Regions from separate parts of the Homo sapiens genome. Here regions 1 and 3 are each linked to region 2. The links are contacts of gene promoters, found by promoter capture Hi-C in blood cells and fetal thymus (Javierre and others, 2016). All regions are on one chromosome and are shown on one strand. Each heading gives the region's core, a stretch centred on a gene start or on the middle of the fragment in contact. The rest is flanking DNA. Distances are from core to core; before and after follow the strand shown.

Evidence for each region. Contacts are between HindIII fragments. The CHiCAGO score rates a contact against its expected background, and 5 or more counts as called.
Region 1: a contact is called between the fragment with the promoter of MASP2 here and the fragment with the promoter of FBXO6 in region 2, in 6 of 17 cell types (naive CD8 T cells, fetal thymus, non-activated CD4 T cells and 3 more). The highest score is 6.3, in naive CD8 T cells.
Region 3: the fragment with the promoter of MTOR-AS1 here is called in contact with the fragment with the promoter of FBXO6 in region 2 in 10 of 17 cell types (naive B cells, endothelial precursors, total B cells and 7 more); the score reaches 10.2 in naive B cells.

What each region holds. Positions count from the first base shown.
Region 1 is chr1:11,045,339-11,048,987 of GRCh38, reverse strand. It overlaps MASP2 (MBL associated serine protease 2), which reads left to right and starts at 1,749. Exons shown (of 11, transcript NM_006610.4): 1 at 1,749-1,785; 2 at 1,869-2,097; 3 at 2,255-2,432; 4 at 3,449-3,580. The coding sequence starts at 1,781. RefSeq lists an enhancer at 2,412-3,244. The HindIII fragment of the contact is 27,395 bases long and covers 1-3,649 here.
Region 2 is chr1:11,661,813-11,665,785 of GRCh38, reverse strand. It overlaps FBXO6 (F-box protein 6), which reads right to left and starts at 1,586. Exons shown (of 6, transcript NM_018438.6): 1 at 1,531-1,586. FBXO44 (F-box protein 44) reads right to left here. Exons shown (of 6, transcript NM_033182.7): 6 at 2,459-3,973. RefSeq lists an enhancer at 1,011-1,060 and silencers at 1,181-1,250, 1,301-1,520. The HindIII fragment of the contact is 5,022 bases long and covers 1-3,089 here.
Region 3 is chr1:11,141,903-11,145,763 of GRCh38, reverse strand. It overlaps MTOR-AS1 (MTOR antisense RNA 1), which reads right to left and starts at 1,866. Exons shown (of 4, transcript NR_046600.1): 1 at 1,777-1,866; 2 at 878-1,097; 3 at 485-611. MTOR (mechanistic target of rapamycin kinase) reads left to right here. Exons shown (of 58, transcript NM_004958.4): 33 at 719-796; 34 at 1,009-1,116. The HindIII fragment of the contact is 11,786 bases long and covers 1,743-3,861 here.

The sequences.
Region 1 (3,649 bases), core at 500-2,999, 620 kb after region 2:
CACGTTCTTCAGTTCTGGGAAATTTTCTTGCATTATTATTATTGCTATGTATGTATTTTTTGAGACAAAATCTTACTCTGTCACCCAGGCTGGAGTTCAATGGCATGAACATGGCTCACTGCAACCTTGAGACCTCCTGGGCTCAAGCGATTGTCCCATCTCAGCCTGCCAAGTAGCTGGGACTAAAGGTGCATGCCACCATGCCTGGCTAATTTAAAAAAATTTTTTTTTTTTTTAGAGACAAGGTCTTGCTATGTTGCCCAAGCTGGTCTTGAACTCCCGGTCTCAGGCGACCCACCTGCCTCAGCCTCCCAGCCTCCTGGGATTATGGGCAGGAGTCACTACACCCAGCCAGAGTCCCGGTCTCTAAAAGAAAATAGGCCAGGCATGGTGGCTCACGCCTGTAATCCCAGCACTTTGGGAGGCTGAGGCGGGTGGATCACCTGTGGTTGGGAGTTCGAGACCAGCCTGACCAACATGGAGAAACTCCGTCTCTACTAAAAATACAAAACTAGCCGGACGTGGTGGCGCATGCCTGTAATCCCAGCTACTCGGGAGGCTGAGGCAGGAGAATTGCTCGAACCCCGGAGGCAGAGGTTTGGTGGCTCACACCTGTAATCCCAGCACTTTGCGAGGCTGAGGCAGGTGCATCGCTTTGGCTCAGGAGTTCAAGACCAGCCTGGGCAACACAGGGAGACCCCCATCTCTACAAAAAACAAAAACAAATATAAAGGGGATAAAAAAAAAAAAAAGACAAGACATGAATCCATGAGGACAGAGTGTGGAAGAGGAAGCAGCAGCCTCAAAGTTCTGGAAGCTGGAAGAACAGATAAACAGGTGTGAAATAACTGCCTGGAAAGCAACTTCTTTTTTTTTTTTTTTTTTTTTGAGGTGGAGTCTCACTCTGTCGTCCAGGCTGGAGTGCAGTGGTGCGATCTCGGATCACTGCAACCTCCGCCTCCCAGGCTCAAGCAATTCTCCTGCCTCAGCCTCCCGAGTAGCTGGGATTATAAGTGCGCGCTGCCACACCTGGATGATTTTTGTATTTTTAGTAGAGATGGGATTTCACCATGTTGGTCAGGCTGGTCTCAAACTCCCAACCTCGTGATCCACCCACCTTGGCCTCCCAAAGTGCTGGGATTACAGGTATAAGCCACCGAGCCCAGCCAAAAGCGACTTCTAAGCCTGCAAGGGAATCGGGAATTGGTGGCACCAGGTCCTTCTGACAGGGTTTAAGAAATTAGCCAGCCTGAGGCTGGGCACGGTGGCTCACACCTGTAATCCCAGCACTTTGGGAGGCTAAGGCAGGTGGATCACCTGAGGGCAGGAGTTCAAGACCAGCCTGACCAACATGGAGAAACCCCATCCCTACCAAAAATAAAAAATTAGCCAGGTGTGGTGGTGCTCGCCTGTAATCCCAGCTACTTGGGAGGCTGAGGTGGGAGGATTGCTTGAACACAGGAAGTAGAGGCTGCAGTGAGCTATGATTGCAGCACTGCACTGAAGCCGGGGCAACAGAACAAGATCCAAAAAAAAGGGAGGGGTGAGGGGCAGAGCCAGGATTTGTTTCCAGGCTGTTGTTACCTAGGTCCGACTCCTGGCTCCCAGAGCAGCCTGTCCTGCCTGCCTGGAACTCTGAGCAGGCTGGAGTCATGGAGTCGATTCCCAGAATCCCAGAGTCAGGGAGGCTGGGGGCAGGGGCAGGTCACTGGACAAACAGATCAAAGGTGAGACCAGCGTAGGGCTGCAGACCAGGCCAGGCCAGCTGGACGGGCACACCATGAGGTAGGTGGGCGCCCACAGCCTCCCTGCAGGGTGTGGGGTGGGAGCACAGGCCTGGGCCCTCACCGCCCCTGCCCTGCCCATAGGCTGCTGACCCTCCTGGGCCTTCTGTGTGGCTCGGTGGCCACCCCCTTGGGCCCGAAGTGGCCTGAACCTGTGTTCGGGCGCCTGGCATCCCCCGGCTTTCCAGGGGAGTATGCCAATGACCAGGAGCGGCGCTGGACCCTGACTGCACCCCCCGGCTACCGCCTGCGCCTCTACTTCACCCACTTCGACCTGGAGCTCTCCCACCTCTGCGAGTACGACTTCGTCAAGGTGCCGTCAGGACGGGAGGGCTGGGGTTTCTCAGGGTCGGGGGGTCCCCAAGGAGTAGCCAGGGTTCAGGGACACCTGGGAGCAGGGGCCAGGCTTGGCCAGGAGGGAGATCAGGCCTGGGTCTTGCCTTCACTCCCTGTGACACCTGACCCCACAGCTGAGCTCGGGGGCCAAGGTGCTGGCCACGCTGTGCGGGCAGGAGAGCACAGACACGGAGCGGGCCCCTGGCAAGGACACTTTCTACTCGCTGGGCTCCAGCCTGGACATTACCTTCCGCTCCGACTACTCCAACGAGAAGCCGTTCACGGGGTTCGAGGCCTTCTATGCAGCCGAGGGTGAGCCAAGAGGGGTCCTGCAACATCTCAGTCTGCGCAGCTGGCTGTGGGGGTAACTCTGTCTTAGGCCAGGCAGCCCTGCCTTCAGTTTCCCCACCTTTCCCAGGGCAGGGGAGAGGCCTCTGGCCTGACATCATCCACAATGCAAAGACCAAAACAGCCGTGACCTCCATTCACATGGGCTGAGTGCCAACTCTGAGCCAGGGATCTGAGGACAGCATCGCCTCAAGTGACGCAGGGACTGGCCGGGCGCAGCAGCTCACGCCTGTAATTCCAGCACTTTGGGAGGCCGAGGCTGGCTGATCATTTGAGGTCAGGAGTTCAAGGCCAGCCAGGGCAACACGGTGAAACTCTATCTCCACTAAAACTACAAAAATTAGCTGGGCGTGGTGGTGCGCACCTGGAATCCCAGCTACTAGGGAGGCTGAGGCAGGAGAATTGCTTGAACCTGCGAGGTGGAGGCTGCAGTGAACAGAGATTGCACCACTACACTCCAGCCTGGGCGACAGAGCTAGACTCCGTCTCAAAAAACAAAAAACAAAAACGACGCAGGGGCCGAGGGCCCCATTTACAGCTGACAAAGTGGGGCCCTGCCAGCGGGAGCGCTGCCAGGATGTTTGATTTCAGATCCCAGTCCCTGCAGAGACCAACTGTGTGACCTCTGGCAAGTGGCTCAATTTCTCTGCTCCTTAGGAAGCTGCTGCAAGGGTTCAGCGCTGTAGCCCCGCCCCCTGGGTTTGATTGACTCCCCTCATTAGCTGGGTGACCTCGGGCCGGACACTGAAACTCCCACTGGTTTAACAGAGGTGATGTTTGCATCTTTCTCCCAGCGCTGCTGGGAGCTTGCAGCGACCCTAGGCCTGTAAGGTGATTGGCCCGGCACCAGTCCCGCACCCTAGACAGGACGAGGCCTCCTCTGAGGTCCACTCTGAGGTCATGGATCTCCTGGGAGGAGTCCAGGCTGGATCCCGCCTCTTTCCCTCCTGACGGCCTGCCTGGCCCTGCCTCTCCCCCAGACATTGACGAGTGCCAGGTGGCCCCGGGAGAGGCGCCCACCTGCGACCACCACTGCCACAACCACCTGGGCGGTTTCTACTGCTCCTGCCGCGCAGGCTACGTCCTGCACCGTAACAAGCGCACCTGCTCAGGTGAGGGAGGCTGCCTGGGCCCCAACGCACCCTCTCCTGGGATACCCGGGGCTCCTCAGGGCCATTGCT
Region 2 (3,973 bases), core at 337-2,836:
AGTTCGAGACCAGCCTGGCCAATATGGCGAAACCCCGTCTCTACTAAAAATACAAAAATTAGCTGGGCGTGGTGGCGGACGCCTGTAGTCCCAGCTACTCGGGAGGGTGAGGCAGGAGAATCACCTGAACCCGGGAAGCGGAGGTTGCAGTGAGCCGAGATCGTGCCACTGCACTCCAGCCTGGGCAACAGAGTGAGAATCTGTCTCAAAAAAAAAAAAAAAAAAAAAAAAGGCCGGGCGCGGTGGCTCACGCCTGTAATCCCAGCACTTTGGGAGGCCGAGGTGGGCGGATCACGAGGTTAGGAGATCGAGACCGTCCTGGCTAACACAGTGAAACTCCATCTCTACTAAAAATACAAAAAATTAGCCGGGCTTGGTTGCAGGTGCCTGTAGTCCCAGCTACTCGAGAAGCAGGTGCCTGTAGTCCCAGCTACTCGGGAGGCTGAGGCAGGAGGACGGCCTGAACCCGGGAGGCGGAGCTTGCAGTGAGCTGAGATCGCGCCACTGCACTCCAGCCTGGGCGACAGAGCGACACTCCGTCTCAAAAAAAAAAAAAAAAAAAAAAAAAAAGAAATTAGCTAGGCCTGGTGGCCCGTGCCTGTAGTCCCAGCTATGCAGGAGGCTGAGGCAGGAGGAACGCTTGAGCCCAGGAAGTCGAGGCTGCAGTGAGCCGTGATCATGCCACTGCACTCCAGCCTGGGTGACAGAGCAAGACTCTGCCATAAATAAATAAATAAATAAATGCTGGCAGCTTCTAAAGGCACTGTCTAGACTCTAGACGAAATAAAAGTCACTGGGCTCCAAGCTAGAGGCATCTAGGCACCAATAGCTTCCCACCGTGGTGACCGAAGTCTGGTCTCTGGCCCAGTCCGCATTTTCTTGCGCCCCTTCCCCCCCCCGGCCCTGGGCATTTTGTGGTGGGGAAGTCCATGCCAGCCCTAGGAAGCCCTCTCACACCGATCGGGGTCCCCAACTGCCCGGCCCGGCGTCTCGTGCTCGCCTTCTCCGCACCCACCCTCCCAGCAAGCTCTAGTGGCATTGTTACTTCACCGGTTTCTCGGAAACAGAAACTGTGGCTGGGGCAAGGCAAGCGCCGGATCTCGCAGGCGTGTGGGGGCCTGGAGGTCCCTTGACAGTTCTCCGAACCCGGCGCCGGCCTCGGGATGTGGCCGGGGTGGAGGCGGCCGCAGAGCCTCCGCCTGGGTGGCCCCGGGGCCAGGCCCCCAGTCGAAGTCCGGGCCCAGCCGCCCGCGCCCCCCACCCCTGGCCGCCCGGACCAGCGCCCGCAGGCTCCGTGAACGCCCAGGCGCCGGAGACCCCGGCTCCCCACTCGCCCGCCGCCCGTCCCCCCGGGGACGCGACCTGGGCGCAGCGGCGGAGCTCCAGGTCGGCCCGAGCCTACGGCCTCGGCTTCGTTGTCGCTGGGCCCCGCCGCCGCGTCACGCGCTGCGCTCGGTCCCCACCCCCGCCCCGGACCCCGCTGCCGTCCCTCTCGGCCCGGCCCCTAACCCTCGCCGCGGGAAGACGAACCTGGGATCCCCAGGGCCCGGGCCCTCGCTGCGGCCTGCGTGTCCTGAAGCTGTCTCCCCCTCCAGGCGGCGGGCGGCTCAGCACCCACACCTGCACCCGCCTCCTACGCAGGGCCGAAGCTCCCGAACGCGCGGCCGCTCCCCGGACCTCCGCACTAGTTCCTTCCTTATGCGGCCCAGGGCTCCACCCTTGACCCGCGGTCCCCTCCCTAGAGGCAGGACCTGACACCCAGTGGGCTCCTTCTTTCCCTAGGGCGTGACCTCCGCAGGCTTCATAGACTCAAAGGTAAAAAACCTGAGGTGCTAGGAGGTGGCTAACGCCTGTGATCCCAGCACTTTGGGAGGCCGAGGTGGGGAGGATCGCTTGAGGTCAGGAGTTCGAGACCAGCCTGGCCAACATGGCAAAAACCCTGTCTCTACTAAATATACAAAAATTAGCCGGGCGTGGTGGCACAGGTCTATAATCCCAGCTCCTCCGGAGGCTGAGGTGGGAGAATCGCTTGAACCTGGGAGGCTGCAGTGAGTGGAGACTGTACCACTGCACTGCAGCCTGGGCGACAGAGCCAGACCTTGTCTCAAAAAATAAAAAACCTCTGAGGTTTTTTATCAGGATTAAGTTCATGAATTTCTTCCATCAGTCAACAAATATTTAGCAAGCACCTTGTTCAGGCAACCACCAAGGGTTGTGCAGGCTGTGTACTGCACAAGGGGACTGGCCCAGGACACATTAATTGCAGTCAGGGCTACATGTTCTCCGTGGAAGGCCGTCCTTTTGCAGTTTGCCATGGGCTGGTGGGTGGTGATCCTGCCCTGGCCAAAGCCCTTATCTAGCTCACCCTTGACTGAGATAGCTAAATGTGAGGAGTACTTATTGAGCACTGGATTATAGTCCATGTTCACACTGCTATAAAGAAATACCCGAGACTGGGTGATTTATAAAAGGAAAGAGGTTTAATTGACTTATAGTTCCATATGGCTGGGGAAGCCTCAAGAAACAATCGCTGGGCGCGGTGGCTCACGCCTGTAATCTCAGCACTTTGGGAGGTCGAGGTGGGTGGATCACGAGGTCAGGAGATTGAGACCACCCTGGCCAACATGGTGAAACTCCATCTCTACTAAAAATACAAACAAAATTAGCCGGGCATGGTGGTGGGCGCCTGTAGTCTCAGCTACTCCAGAGGCTGAGGCAGGTGAATGGCGCGAACCTGGGAGGCAGAGCTTGCAGTGAGCTGAGATTGCGCCACTGCACTCCAGCCTGGGCGACAGAGCGAGACTCCATCTCAAAAAAAAAAAAAAAAAAAAGAAAAGAAAAGAAAAAAGGAACTTACAATCATGGTGGTGGAAGGTGAAGGGGAAGCAACGACCTTCTTCACATGGCGGCAGGAGGGAGCCGGGGAAACCGTCACTTGTAAAACCATCAGATCTCGTGAGAACTCACTCACTATCATGAGAACAGCATGGGGGAAAACCGCTCCCATAATCCAATCACTTCCCACCAGGTCTCTCCCTAAACACCCAGGATTACCATTCAAGATGAGATGTGGGTGGGGACACAAAGCTTAACCATATCACGCACCAACTGTGTGCCAGGCACCATTCTAAATGCTTCGGCTTCATCCAATGTCCGTAAAGCTGTTGGCAAAGAGTAACACCAGGAGGCAGAGCCTGGGTGGCACTGCTGATCTGGCACAAGGTGGACTCAAGAGCTGCCCAGAGATGTCCACACACCCCAACCCCAGCCTGTGGCTGGGCCTCCAGAGGAAGCCAGCAGTACTGGACGGCTGCCAGGTGAGATACCTGCAGCTCACTGAGGGGTCTGCCCATGAACCTGTTTCTGTGATGGCCTGGTTCCTGAAATGCCAACCCCTCTGTACCTTAGACAGAAGCCATGCCATTGTACCATCTGCAGGTCCAGGCAGGACCACCTAAAGTCTGCCTTTCCTTCCAGAAACCACAGGGCACAGGTTAGACTGGGCACACCTTTTATTTGGCTGCATGCAGTAGGGCGAAGTCAGGAGAACACTGCTATCTTTCCAGCAGGACAAGAGGCAAGTTCCAAGGGTGGTTGGCTGGGAGACAGAGGTCTTGGGAATGGCAGTTCTAGGGGTGGGGTGGGGGCTTGGAATGCTCTCCAAGCCAGAGGGGGCCGGGCCTGGATTTGGGAGGTGGACAGGGGATTCTTCAAACCCCCTACCATACTCATCCAGGGCTCATGTGTCCAGCTGTCAGAGCAGGTCCCAATCCTGCTCCCCATCTACCCTGGGACATCCTGTACAGGATTCCCTCAGTCCTCTGGGAACCTAACCCCACCTGGTACCCATCTAGCTTCTGGGGCTCCACTGACAGTGAGGACAGTCCACACCCGACCTGGACCCCACCCCACCCTGGGTCTGTCCATCTCAGTCCCGGCCTGAGCCTCTGGGCCAAAGCCACCTCTTCTGAGC
Region 3 (3,861 bases), core at 617-3,116, 520 kb after region 2:
GGGAGGCCGAGGCAGACGGATCACTTGAGACCAGGAGTTCAAGACCAGCCTGCCCAACATGGTGAAACCCTATCTCTACTAAAAATACAAAAATTAGCTGGGCGTGGTGGCGGGCGCCTGTAACCCCAGCATCCCAGCTACTTGGGAGGCTGAGGCAAGAGAATCGCTTGAACCAACATGGAGAAACCCTATCTCTACTAAAAATACAAAAATTAGCTGGGCGTGGTGGCGGGCGCCTGTAACCCCAGCATCCCAGCTACTTGGGAGGCTGAGGCAAGAGAATCACTTGAACCCGGGAGGTGGAGACTGCAGTGAGCCAAGATCACACCACTGCACTCCAGCCTGGGTGACAGAGTGAGACTGTGTCTCAGAAGAAAAAAAAAAGGTAGATCCCCAGTTATGTCCTCTTGAGATGCAAGAACCCATGATTCGGTTTTACAGCCCACATTCCCATGCCCTTGCCACCTAAGATTTTGTGTGTTACCTTAGATAGATGTTAAAGTTTTGGATGCCATACATTTCTGTCTTCGATGAGAAATTGGATAATACCTCCTCTCAAGCCATTCAGTTCTGGGAAAATGCCCTTCTTCAGCGAATTTCTCTTTTCATCCCTGGAATTTAAGTGAGACAGATAACTTCTGTAGCTAGTTGGGGTGCCCTAAAATAACCCTAAGCTCCCAAGTCCAGAGCTCAGTCCCAAGGGTTGTTTCTCTTCTAGTGCATTGACAAGGCCAGGGACCTGCTGGATGCTGAATTAACTGCGATGGCAGGAGAGAGTTACAGTCGGGCATATGGGGTAAGTGTCAACTATTCTGCACATTGTCATTTTTGAGGCTTATTTCCATACTTTTTTCAGAATGGGCTATTGAGAACTTACAGGCTGCTGGAAACATGCCTGTTTTCTCTGATCGGCAGATACCCTGACACCAGAAGGAATGATTTAAATTAATCCTGTCTTTTGGATTGTTCGTGCAGTAATTAGTTTGGAATGCGATTTGCTTCCATCAGGCCATGGTTTCTTGCCACATGCTGTCCGAGCTGGAGGAGGTTATCCAGTACAAACTTGTCCCCGAGCGACGAGAGATCATCCGCCAGATCTGGTGGGAGAGACTGCAGGTGAGCTTGGTAGAAAGCCCCAGTTCACCCACCTACCCCTACCCCTTCCAGGACCTGGGTGAGTGCCCCCCTCCACCCTGGCTCTTACTCAACTTGCTTTTCCTGCCTCCTCCACCAGTGTATTGCTTGGCTTGCATACAAAGCAGAATACTCAAAGGCTCCTCACCTAAACTTAAGCTGTGAGAGAATGACCAATTTTCCAGTCTCTTCTTATTCTCTTCTCTAGGAATTAAAAAAAATGTTTTTTAGTAAGTGACACCTGTGACCAGTCAGTTAGGAATCATAACCTCAAAATCAGTGGTTCTCAACCTTAGCAGCACAGTAGAATCACCTGCAGAGCTTTTTAAAATCCTGATGCCCAGGCTATTCCCCAGGCCAATTAAATTTCTGGGGAGAGACTCAGGATCAGTATCTTTTCAGGTTCCCCCAGATGATTCCACCAGCCAAAGCTAAGAACCACTGCTCTAACTACACTTGGAGGCCACCTGCACCAGCTTTTCAGATGGGGTTGCCTTAGGTTCTCATTGGCCAACTCCTGCTATTTATAGCTACTTAGGTCAGAGTCATCCTGTCGCCTCTATTGAGACTTTTTTTCCACTGCAGTTTCCGCTTGTAGAGAAGAAGCTTTCCCAAGTCCTCCATCAGTGTTTTCATTCTCACATTCTGATCATTTTAACATGAGAAACTGTCACTCCAGGTCTGGGAGTCAGGAGTCTAAATGTTCTGGGAAGGATGGCCAGTTATCCCATTCCTTGAGTGGGTAGGATAGGAAGTTCATCAGCAAAAGAAAAAAGAGAGAAAGCCTTTACCACTCCAGAAACCATTTGTCTCCCTACCTATCATAATCCATCCCCGCAATTATAAACCATTTCCTCTCAACTAGATCCCCACCTAATTGCTAATTCCAAATTCTCGCTTCAGACCAATCGAAGTTTGTGCTTCCAGGCGTCTCAGTAGGCTGCGACAAAACCTTTTGACTCCAAACACATTCCTGCCTAGGAAGCTCAGGGCACATTCCCCTGGACAGGAAAGAGCAATGGGCAAAGGAACATCTATGAATACAGTCATTTATGGCTCTGAAATGAGCACATACAGTTCTTTTACATGTTTTATTAGTAATTATGAAATGCCCAGTGAATGTTTTGATGGAAAATTGTCTCCTGGGCACCAGAAAGAATTCCACAAATAAGCATTTCCCACTTGATTTGTACACACCCCAATTCTTTGAAATGCCTATAATAAAGAGTTTCTACAGCAGAGATCTGATGAACCTTCTGACAGTCTGACAAGTGGGACTTGATCCAAATGTAGACTTAGAGGAGAGGGGAGGCATGGAATGAGTCCTGGGAAGAGAGATGCCTGTCTGACTTTACTGGGTCCAGGACACTGCCACCACCTTAAGCCTTCGTGACTTTCCTATCTTGAGGCAGCAAGATGCTTTTTGGCTTACAGGAGGCCAAATTATTTCAGCATCTGGGAGAACCTAACTATTGGTGAGAAGTCACAAAAAACAATCACTCAGTGTACTTTTTTCTGTTATTTTAACTTTCGAAATCATTGTTGTCACACTTCATGGGATGGAAAAATGTGGTCCAAGGCCTGAAAGTAAAGCATTACATTTATAGTGGAAATTTGGCTCTTGTGGATGGCTTGCTGTCAAATGAACTGCTGGGGCTAGAAAACTGCCATTTTGTGGTCAAATCATTTAAATTAAAATCCCCAACCAGTATTATAGTAGTGGAAAAATACATGTTTGTTACTTTTCTTTGGAGTTGCACCAATGCTTTTGGTTCCTAAGACCCTCCCATAGGGCAGTTAGAGAGGTCAGCCTTACTGGCGCTGGGTCTCTTCTAGCCTTGGGTTCTCCAGTCAGGCTCAGACTGCATCTTATCATAGCTAAAAGCCTGAGATCATTGTCGCTAGACTTTTAAGTTTATCTCCATGGAGGACAGCTCCATGGGTTCATGGAATTTACCATGAAGCAGTAGATCTCAGGAACTCCCCTTCTGAGTCTGACTTCTTATCAACAAGGATGAAAAAGGAGTTCACTTGGCCAGGCATGGTGGCTCACACCTGTAATCCCAGCACTTTGGGAGGCTGAGGCAGGTGGATTGCTTGAGGTCAGGAGTTTGAGACTTAGCCTGGCCAACATAGAGAAACCCCCTCTCTGCTAAAAGAAAAAAATACAAAAATTAGCCAGGCGTGGTGGCGCACACCTGTAATCCCAGCTCCTTGGGAGGCTGAGGCAGGAGAATCGCTTGGACCTGGGAGGCAGAGGTTGCAGTGAGCCAAGATTGCGCCACTGCACTCCAGCCTGAGGGACAGAATGATACTCCATCTCCAAAAAAAAAGGAGTTCTGCCTGCTTCTGCTCCCAAAGTTCTGGGATTACAGGCATGAGCCACCATGCCTGGCCTTCTGATACATTTTAACTTCCCTGCAAGCCACAGCCAAATCCACTGTGAAACACAACGGAGATTTGCTGATAGAATCTCAGGTTAAGGGTACTGTGAGTGAAATACCCTTAGGCAGCCGTCCCCAACCTGACTCTCTATAGTTGTTAGATGTAAAATTAGCTTAAGCCCCTTTGATAATTAATTCACTTTTTTATTATTTTATTTTATTTATTTATTTATTTATTTATTTTTGAGACGGAGTCTCGCTGAGTCCCCCAGTCTGGAGTGCAGTGGCACGATCTCGGCTTACTGCAAGCTCCGCCTCCCAAGTTCACGCCATTCTTCTGCCT